Linked DNA regions of Homo sapiens: regions 1 and 2 are each linked to region 3. Evidence: promoter capture Hi-C in 16 types of primary human blood cells and fetal thymus (Javierre and others, 2016). All regions are on one chromosome and are shown on one strand. Each heading gives the region's core, a stretch centred on a gene start or on the middle of the fragment in contact. The rest is flanking DNA. Distances are from core to core; before and after follow the strand shown. Region 1 holds the start of TOR1AIP1 (torsin 1A interacting protein 1). Region 2 holds the start of ACBD6 (acyl-CoA binding domain containing 6). Region 3 holds the start of EDEM3 (ER degradation enhancing alpha-mannosidase like protein 3).

What was found. The method cuts DNA at HindIII sites, captures the fragments that hold promoters and counts their contacts. A CHiCAGO score of 5 or more calls a contact.
Region 1: the fragment with the promoter of TOR1AIP1 here is called in contact with the fragment with the promoter of EDEM3 in region 3 in 2 of 17 cell types (activated CD4 T cells and non-activated CD4 T cells); the score reaches 9.1 in activated CD4 T cells.
Region 2: a contact is called between the fragment with the promoter of ACBD6 here and the fragment with the promoter of EDEM3 in region 3, in 2 of 17 cell types (activated CD4 T cells and non-activated CD4 T cells). The highest score is 5.8, in activated CD4 T cells.

What each region holds. Positions count from the first base shown.
Region 1 is chr1:179,880,743-179,884,193 of GRCh38, forward strand. It overlaps TOR1AIP1 (torsin 1A interacting protein 1), which reads left to right and starts at 1,543. Exons shown (of 10, transcript NM_015602.4): 1 at 1,543-2,235. The coding sequence starts at 1,761. It overlaps LOC139427322, which reads left to right and starts at 1,574. Exons shown (of 1, transcript NM_001436163.1): 1 at 1,574-1,651. The coding sequence starts at 1,574. The coding sequence ends at 1,651. RefSeq lists enhancers at 909-1,447, 1,360-1,469, 1,448-1,985, 1,490-2,249, 1,812-2,106 and 1 more. The HindIII fragment of the contact is 5,266 bases long and covers 630-3,451 here.
Region 2 is chr1:180,501,326-180,504,658 of GRCh38, forward strand. It overlaps ACBD6 (acyl-CoA binding domain containing 6), which reads right to left and starts at 1,252. Exons shown (of 8, transcript NM_032360.4): 1 at 720-1,252. The coding sequence starts at 941. RefSeq lists enhancers at 1-174, 175-690, 798-1,298, 820-1,009 and a silencer at 1,220-1,319. The HindIII fragment of the contact is 1,534 bases long and covers 616-2,149 here.
Region 3 is chr1:184,753,255-184,756,459 of GRCh38, forward strand. EDEM3 (ER degradation enhancing alpha-mannosidase like protein 3) reads right to left here and starts at 1,604. Exons shown (of 20, transcript NM_025191.4): 1 at 1,235-1,604. The coding sequence starts at 1,392. LOC105371649 (a long non-coding RNA gene) reads left to right here and starts at 1,920. Exons shown (of 3, transcript XR_922357.4): 1 at 1,920-2,279. RefSeq lists enhancers at 1,188-1,287, 1,758-1,857. The HindIII fragment of the contact is 1,960 bases long and covers 1,238-3,197 here.

The DNA.
Region 1 (3,451 bases), core at 293-2,792, 4.9 Mb before region 3:
TAACAGGCCAAACCTTATCTCACTCTAAAACTGTAATTCCTCCTGCCTGTGGCCAAATTTATGGACAATATTAGTAAAAACATAGTACACAGTCGGGCAGGGTGGCTCACGCCTGTAATCCCAGCACTTTGGGAGGCCGAGAGGCGGATCACGAGGTCAGGAGATCGAGACCATCCTGGCTAACACGGTGAAACCCTGTCTCTACTAAAAATACAAAAAAATTAGCCGGGCGTGGCGGCATGCGCCTGTAGTCCCAGCTGCTGGGGAGGCTGAAGCAGGAGAATGGCGTGAATCCGGGAGGCAGAGGTTGCAGTGAGCCGAGATCGCGCCACTGGACTCCAGCCTGGGTGACAGAGCAAGACTCCGTCTCAAAAAAAATAAAATAAAAATAAAAATAAAATAAAAACATAGTACACATTACGACTTAAGTAGTTGAAATTTGTGCCAAGTTTGAGCAACAAATGAGTTGCTCAAAAACATTTTAAGGTGATTACTTGGAAGAATAAACAAACACCTTCAAACTTTTCAGAATCGCTCATTGTAACTGGTATCCAAATTACAATTTTTTAAATCTATTCACTCCAATCATACAAAGCCCTACAAGCAGTTGTATATTTGAAGGCAATTTAAGCTTTCTTTCAATAATTATTCAGACTTTACACGAACTTAATCGACCTTCTCTGAATGTGTCTAAATTTGGTTAGGTATTTGCAGATTAGCCACATCTGTAAACATTTGTATAAGGAGGTGAAACAAATAGATTTTACCATGCTTTCTTATTCCATAAAGTCCATAAAGCATTCTAAATCAAATGTAGAGTATCACGTCACATCCAGAATAAAAGTAAAAATAATGGATCACAACTTAAAATTACAGTGCTGTCTTTAATTAAAAAACTTGTTCATTTCTCACTGTGCACAATGTAGCACTAACATGGTCTTCCGAACACTGCTGCTTGGTATAAAACCGAGAAATATTAAAGACCAGGAATAAGGTTATGTGTCCTATGGGTACATTTCGGAAAAGAAAATACATCCAACGAGTATGACTCTAGATAGGATTTTGTACACCCTCAACAAGTGACAAAATTCAAAACTAGGTAACCGCCCTCATAAGGTACTTGAAACTAAAATTTTTGCCACGAAAACATGGCATGTGCAAAAGTTCTCTCTCTGGCCATCACTCCTGCTAAGGACACTGGGAAGGACATGGTCAACGTAGCAGTCGATCAAAAAGATTCCAGGGAAACTGCGCAACAGCCTGGGGCCGAGAAGCGAAACTTGGGTCTTCTCCACCCTCGTCGCACTCCTTTTCCCCGAGACTTGGTACTGGGAGATAGGACGGGAGTCTCCTACACGCAGTCAACACTTGCCACGAGCGGCTAGACTTAGGACAGGCAAGTTGCCCTGCCATCCTTCTATCGCCCCCACCCCTCCTTTACTTAAGGGCGATGGCAGAGACGTCCTCCTCCCCCTTCTCCTCCTCTTTGGTGCCTCCAGCCAGGAGGCGGGAGCGATCCACAGCAGCTGACCCAGCTCAGGCACTGCCTCTCTCACAGCCCTCAAGACACACCATGGGCCCAGAGGCAGGTTTGCTACACAGCAGCGACGACGCAGGCGGCGGCCCCAGCGACTCGCAACTGCCTCCCTGACCACAGCGGCCACCGCCCAACACCCCCGAGAAGCCATCGCCACCACCGGCAGGAGAACCTAGGGTCCATAAAGCCATCTTCGCGATCGACTAAAGCTACGTCAACAACTATGGCGGGCGACGGGCGGCGGGCAGAGGCGGTGCGGGAAGGATGGGGTGTGTACGTCACCCCCAGGGCCCCCATCCGAGAGGGAAGGGGCCGGCTCGCCCCTCAAAATGGCGGCAGCAGCGATGCGCCTGCGTACAGAACTCCTCCGTCGCGCCAGGGCCGGCGGGAAGTGAGGTTCTCGGACGAGCCGCCAGAAGTGTACGGCGACTTCGAGCCCCTGGTGGCCAAAGAAAGGTCCCCGGTGGGAAAACGAACCCGGCTAGAAGAGTTCCGGTCCGATTCTGCGAAAGAGGAAGTGAGAGAAAGCGCGTACTACCTTCGGTCTAGGCAGCGGAGGCAGCCGCGACCCCAGGAAACCGAGGAAATGAAGACGCGAAGGACTACCCGCCTTCAGCAGCAGCACTCAGAGCAGCCTCCGCTACAGCCGTCTCCTGTTATGACCAGGAGAGGGCTGCGGGACTCTCATTCCTCTGAAGGTGAGGACCGCGGAGGTAACAGTCCCAGCCGCGAGCCAGGGAACGCGCGGGGGCGGGCGCGCGCCTCGGTGGAGCTCATGCCCGCCTGGGTACTAAGTACTGGGATTGGCTAAAGGGTATTCCTCAGCCCCCTCTGGACTTGTGCCGCCGTGCAAGGGCCACCCTGACCCGCAGCGGGGAAGGAAGCGCCGACCGGAGGAGTGGAAAGATGGTCGTGTGGAGCGACCCGGGCAGGGCTGGGGCGCTCTGCCCAACATCGGGCATCAATTTAGGGGAGTCAGAGCTGCCTTTTTCTGCAGGCCTTCACGAGGGGACAGCGAATTACTGCAGGGTCGGTTTCATTTCGGTTCCCTCTACCCTGCGGATGTTTCTACAGAAACCACTTCCATTTCCTTCTTTAACGCTCGCGGGCCAGAGTCCCCAGCTGAGGATCTAACCTTTCAGTCTTTTTCCCTCCTCACCCAGGTGGGCAGAGAGGAAGGAGAAATTTTGTGAGTGGGCATTTCGAGGGATTGCTGAGTTTAGTGAATTGATTTGAGACCTCACCCAATACTTTCACCGAAATGGGGTAACTCATTTTTCCTGAACTGATGTTCCCCAGTGTTTGATAACTTGAGCTGATTGCTGTTTCTCCAGTGTGGTGGTCCCTGCCAAAAATCTGCCACTTTGGTGGCCGTCACTGTAACCTCAAGTAGTCTGGCAAATCAGACTGACAAAGTAACCTGAAAAACAAGACTATTAATTAGAGTTTTCGTCTAAATGGACAAAAGGGATGCTGACAAAGTGAGTGTATAGTGTTAGGTAAGTCATAGGTGAATCAGTTTCCTTAATCTATCCTCTCCCACCCTGCCCCCCCCATTTTAGGACCTAACACTGAGTCACAGATGAAGTTTCATGTTAATCCCATGTAAGGCACCTGTGAGGTAAAAATCAGCGGACCTGAGTCACAATGGGATGACATAGTTTGTGGTAGACTATTGATAGGCGGAGGAGTGGGTTTTCAGCTTAGAGCACGGTGATAGGCTGCAAGTTTACCTGCTGACTCGTGAAGGTACTGACAGATTTGAAGACTTGATTTTGGAAACTTTATGTTAAAGTTATGTCAGTTATTTTTGGGTGTAGCAACTGAAGACAGTTTAGCCCATATATGTGTTAGTTTTATCTCTTTTAAGATTACAAAGTTTTTGCAGACAAGGAGCCTATAATATATTTGATA
Region 2 (3,333 bases), core at 2-2,501, 4.3 Mb before region 3:
TTTGCATTGCATCACATTATTATTATTATTATTATTTGAGGTGGAGTTTCTTCGCTCTTGTTGCCCAGGCTGGAGTGCAATGGCGCACAATCTTCGCTCACCGCAACCTCCGCCTCCTCAGCCTCCCGAGTAGCTGGGATTACAGGCATGCGCCACCACGCTCGGCTAACTTAGTAGAGACGGGGTTTCTCCATGTTGGTCAGGCTGGTCTCCAACTCCCGACCTCAGGTGATCCTCCCGCCTCGGCCTCCCAAAGTGCTGGGATTACAGCCGTGAGCAACCACGCCCAGCCCTGCATCACATTATTACAATCCTATTATCTTTTTGGATCTCTATATAGTTTTATTAACTTTACCGTATTTACTTCCATGTGGCCCTCTGGGAAAGAGTAAATGAATGATATATCTTATTTTATCCTCATTTTGTAAAGGTTCTTGGGCTGGTAAAATGCAAGATCACTGAATAAGTCAGAGAAAAAAACACAAAAACAATGTCCAGTGTCCAGCTAAATAAACATCACTCCTAAGAAAGCAAACATCTTTTCCACGTTCAGGATGATGCTCATCCCCAGCAGATGGTCAAAAAAAAAAAAACAAAACAAAATACACATACACAAGCTTCATTACACCTAGCTATTAACCATACATGCTTGCTATCAGTTGTTGAGGAAGAAGGCTCCGTGTCTTTCTCCCCCATCCACCCTCTCCCTGCTACTTTACCTGTTTGTACCTGGCATACAGGTACAAGAGCTGCTCCCTGCTGGCCACCTGAATCAGGCCTTGCAGGTGCGCGGCAGCCTTCTCAAACAGCTCGGCCAGGCAACTGGTCTCCTCGATCTCAGGGCTATGGGGGAACTCCACCTCCCCGGAGTCGTCCCCTGAGCTCAGCTCTCCACCGCTGTCGCCGGTGATGGCCCCCGCGGGCAGGAATGATGAAGCCATGTCTCCTTGCTCGCTCCGTCCCTCTGTGTCCGGTCTGTCCTCCTTGGATTGGGTGTAAGGCCGGCTTGGAGGCCTGGCCCACCAGTCTGGGTCGCGAGCCTGAGCTCCAGTCGGACCCAAGCTCAGTCGCGGCGCGCTCCCTCACGTGACCCTGCTCCCTGCCCACTTCTACTCCCTGGGCGTGCAGAGCAGGCTCCTCGACCCTCTGCCGCTCTGCCCAGTCGACCCGGTCTCCTCCGGCTTCCCTCCGGCCAACAGCGCGCTCAGGCTCGCCTCAGGCCCCTCCAACGGAACAGGAGTCGAGGGGCAGTGAGGCCGGGATGCGTGCGAGCGCGGGGCGCGGCTGGCGCTGGGCCGTGGGGGCGGGGCGGCGTGCGTGCCAGCGGCGTGCGATTCTGTGAGGCCTGCTCTGCGCCGGCGGGGAAGCGCGGGCGACGCTACGCTGGACGTCCTTCCCTGCCGGAGGAGAGAAAGTGCCGTCAGCTGTAGGGGCGTCTTTTAATCGTTTCGCTGAAATTAGCAGTCCCGAGCTCCGGAGCCCGCCACCGGGATGGGCCCCCGGGGGTGGGGGAAGGAGGCCGTTTGTGTGGTAGTGTAGCGGTGAGAGCGGAGTCGCGGGAAACGCGAGGCTGAGGACTAAGGTTCCGCCTGCCCCAGATTGTGCGCCCCAAGCGCCTCCAAACAGCCCTGCGCGCGGATCTGTTGCGTGCGCGTTGGGCTCTGTGTTGAATAATGAAAAACTGCGAGATGGGGCTGTCCCGTCTTACTGTGTGACTGATGAGTGGAATCACTGCTCTGCGTGTTTCGCTCTCCACACCTTCGGAGCCCGCACCTCTCCGGGCCCTGAATAATAGGGTTTGGGGAGTTCGGGGCGCGCCTTAGCCCAGTTCTCATCCCGAGCTCTGTCTTTGACACTGTGCTTTGTAGACACTGTACAGTGAAACCAGAAGTACGGCACAGTTCGGCCCTAGAGGAATGCACAAAACTATTTTTTTAACTGTAACATTATGAGTGGTTATGTCCTAAATGTTAAACACAACGACGCACTATATATTCATTTAGTATTCAAAACAATGTAATAAGCACTATAAGAAGGGTACAAAGAAAGTGTTGTAAACAGTGGTTATTGACTGGGGTTAGGCTTGCGACGGGTGGACGGACGGCTGGACAGGATGAGGAAGCAATGAGAGAACACAGGAAGGTGAGAAAGCTTGCATCAGGATTCAACAGACATTCCTTAAGTCTCCAGAAAGTTCCACTGTTAGTCCCTGCTGTCAAGGTGCTCGCAATCCAGTCAAAGGGATGTTTAATGACCAAATTCTTGCAATTAAAAAGTGATTAAGAATAATGTATTGAGGACTTGATCATTACAACATAAGGTAGGTACTCTTATTTTACTACACATAGGAAATCAGCACAGAGTGGTTAAGTAACTTGTCAAAGGCTACACAGCTAGCAAATGGAGGAGCAAGGAAAAAGAAGTTAGCTTTCATGTGGGGTAATAATGGATGATGAACCCGACAAGTAGACTGAAGGAGATATAACATGGACTTTTATATCTTTGTTTCTAGAATTTTTATTAAAGTGAGAATTGAATATTATCAACGGCTTTTTTGGCATCTTTGGAGATTATCTGCTTTTCTCCTCTAGTCTTCGAAAGGAATTATATTAACAGTTTCTATTTTAATGAATTATATTAACAAAAATAAATTTGGGATTTAATGAATTATATAATAGCTAACATTGATAAATTAGTATGCATTATTTCAAAACCTCCTAGTTTTGAGCATTACTTCTGTTCTTGGAATAAACCCATTCTGGTCCTGGTTTGGTTTTTTTAAAAAATTTGTAGGTTCAGTTTGCTAATATTTTCATTATCTTTACAGTTCCATTTAAAGATGTCATTAACCTATAGTTTTCCTTTTCTATACTTTCTCAATTTTGTATCAAGGTAATAGAATCCTTGTAGAATGCATTTAGAAGTTTTCATCTTTTTCTGTATTCTGGAAGAGTTTACATAACATGGGAAAGAGAGCAACCAGAATTCTTTTACACTGCTGGTGTGAGCATAAATTGGTACAATCACTGTGGAAAAATGTTTGGCACTATCTACTAAAGCTGAACATAAATATACAACAATTCGACTCCTCCCCAGCGGGAATATATACATGGCATTCACCAAAAACATGTACGAGAACATTCATAGCAGCACTATGAACTAATTCCTAATTGCTCCAAACTGGAAGCTCCTGAATGTCCATCAACACTAGAATGGAGATAAACTGGTGTGCTTACATGATGGAATACTATTCATCAGTGAGAATGAACTAATTACAATGACACAGAATAACATGAATGAATCTCAAACATAATGTTGAGTATAAGCCTATAC
Region 3 (3,205 bases), core at 354-2,853:
ACAACTTGCATTTTTTTTTGTTTTGGAAATATATTCTGGATAGGCTTCCAGTGACGTACTTCCTTCTTCTTAATGTCTCAATATTATTCCATAATATGAACGTACCCTATTGAACCATTTCCTCCAAGGAAGAGCTGTTCTTTCAAAATGCACTTTTTTTTTTTTTTTTCGAGACAGAGTTTCGCTCTTGTTGCCCAGGCTGGATCTATCTCTGCATTAAGAGTGCTTTTATTTTCTTAGGGTAGATTCTCAGAAATAGAACTGATGAATCAAAGTGTGCACAATTTAAATTTTAGTAGATACTACCAATAAGTTACAGCAATTTACACTCTCACTAAGCCTTTTTTTTCTATTCCTTAACTAACCAGAACCGTATCCTTGTGTTTTGTATTATATTTACTAATCTGATGGGCAAAAACCAGCTAGCTCCTCGTTTTAATCTGCATCTCCTACGTTTATGGAGGTTGAGTAACTTTTCATGTTTATTTACCACTTCCATTTCCTCTTCTGGCTTAACCGTTCATGCCTTTCTCCCATTTCCTACTGGTTCTTCGCTTTTTTCTTATTCATGTGTAGGACCTCGTGTATGTATTACTCTGAATTAAATGGTGTAAATAGAATTGATAATTTTAACACACTTCCAAGACGGATAAAAACTACTGAATAGGTATACTTGAGACTTTTGAATAATTTCCCCCCAAACATTCTATTATGAAAATACAGTGCAAGAAAACACTGCAAGGAAATAGTAAAATGTGTAAAGTTCAAGTTCCAATGAACGCCCCCTTTTCCGTAACAGGTGTAAACATCATTTCCTTAACTACTGTGAGATCAGCAACATTTTCCCAGTTGGAAGCTCACTTGCGCGAGAAAGCTAACCATGCTTCGGTCGACAGGCAGCCAACCGCAGAACTCCAGCGCGCAGCGATGCGGGCTGTAGCCCCCTTCTTGGGCCACTGACATGGCAGCCGCGTTGACACACCGCGCCTGGCTTCAAGGAGCCTGCACATGTCACCGGCGGCCAGGGCGACACCCCGTCAGCTCCCCCGAGGTCAGGTCGCGGGCGGCGGTTCCCACCTCCCCGGACCCTGTCCACCCCTCTAGGGTTCTCGCGCGGGAAGAGCCGTTCCAATCGCGACAGGAGAGGCCACTACGCGACCGGGTCGCAATGACAGGCACCCCTCCTGTTGTCAGCCTCACCGAGAAACCCACCCCAGGCTGCCAGCACCCTTACCCAAGCTTCTGTTTCTCCTCCCTACTCATGGGCTCGGCCCCCGCCGTCCACACGGAGGTGGCCGACACCAGGCAGAACGCGGCCGTCGCCGCCACTAGTCTCCATCGCGCTCGCTGGGGAACCGGGGACCCACAGCCCCGGCCGCCGGCTTCGCTCATGGCCCCGCGGTTCCGCGCACGCGCAGCTGCTACGCCCGGCCGGTGAGACACATTGCTGGACGCTGGTGGCCAGGGGGCTGCTAGCCGTGCCGAGACGGGGCGGGATGCGGAGTAACACGGACGGCCGCCGGCGCCAAACTGTTTCCCGAAGCCACCAAGCCGGTCCCCAGCGCCAGCGCTGCCACCGCCCTCCGCCCTCAGTATCCCGGAGCGCCTCCCCCAGCTTTCCGGTGTCGTAGTCTAGGAAACCGCCTCCCCAACGTTACTTCCGGGTAGGGCCGAAGCCGTAGAGCCTCAGGACCAATGGAGACCTCATGGGAGAGGGGCTGTCTCCGGCGACTGGAGAGGGCATTGGCCAGGAGAAGTGAGACGTGGACAAAAGGCGGGACTGGGAAGGGATCTCTCGCTTCGACCCGCCTCCGACCCGCGGAGTTGCCCCCTGAGGACTACCAGTCCCAGTGTGCACTGCTTCTTCCCCGGCTCTCCCGCGAGCCGACTCGGAGCCGTGTCTCTCGCTTCTACCCGGGGTAGGCGCGCTGCACCCTGGGACTTGCGGTCCTCCGAGGTCGCCAGTGGTTGCTGGGATCCCACCTCCCCCTTTCCTCGGCGCCCTACAGTCAACCCTGTCTCGGTGGGCTGCGGAGTCCCGGGAAACCCGTCAGCTGTTTATCTCTCTTCCTCAGAAAGTTGTTTCCCAGAGAGCTGGCTGAATGAGGCGCACTGTCCCCATGTCAGTGCTGCTGCGTTAGGGAATAGTGTTGGAGTAGTCGTCTACCCTCAGGGAAATTCCAAAACACAGTAACAGCAAAATGAATTGAGCCTTTGAAGGCATTGCGCTAAGGTTTTTACTCGCAATCATCTCATGCACTCTTCTCAACTCTGATAGAGTAAGTACCACCATCCCCCTTTTGCAGACGAGAAAACAGAGGCTTAGAAAAGTTGGTTAACAAGAGCTCGTCACACTGCTGTATTAGAATCCATCCAGCCTCTGATTCGGAAGCCCTTGCATTTAACCACCGCGCAGTACTACAAGGATGAAGGAGCACGTGGGTCCTCGTACATGATTAATAATAGTTACCTCAAAAGCTCAATGTAAGGAGAGCTGTGTGGGCTGCAAAGAAGGTTTAATGAAGGAGATTGGAACTTGCAATGAATTTTGATGACCGAGTCCCAGGTTAACTATTGGTAAAATGACACATCGGTTCCTCTTGAAAAACCACATTGTTTTTCTAGTGTGGTCATTCAATAGGTGCGGAGTTTAGGAGCTTCGATGTGATCTCTGTGACCACAGTAAATTACTTACGTGTCCTTTAAGCAGTATTCGGCGGTCTTTCTGGAAACGTTTCTTCCTTGACTTTTATCACCTTACCTCTTACCTCTTAACCTCTTACCTCTTCTCTGGCTGACCCGTTTTCCTTCATTCTCTCGCTACTTTATATTAAAATACAGGTGTTCCCTTAAGGTTTTCTTTTTGTCCTTTTTCTCTCTGTACTCTAATTATTCCTTGGTGATTTCTTCTCATAAGGATTCAGCCAACATATCTCTGTGGTTGATTTCTAAATCAATATCTGTCCTGATCATTAGACCCACATTTCCACCTCCCTAATAGAAATGTCCTAATGTCTAGCCCAAGGGTAGCTCAAACGTAAGATGTTTTCTGATTCAAATTAATGCATCGGAATCATTGTCAACTCATCTTTAGCCTTCGGGGTCCACGTGCAATTAATTACCAAATTATATAGATTTTACCTCTTCTATCTTTCAGATTATTACCTTTCTTTCTATTCCCACTTTTGCTCCATTCAAGCTTCCA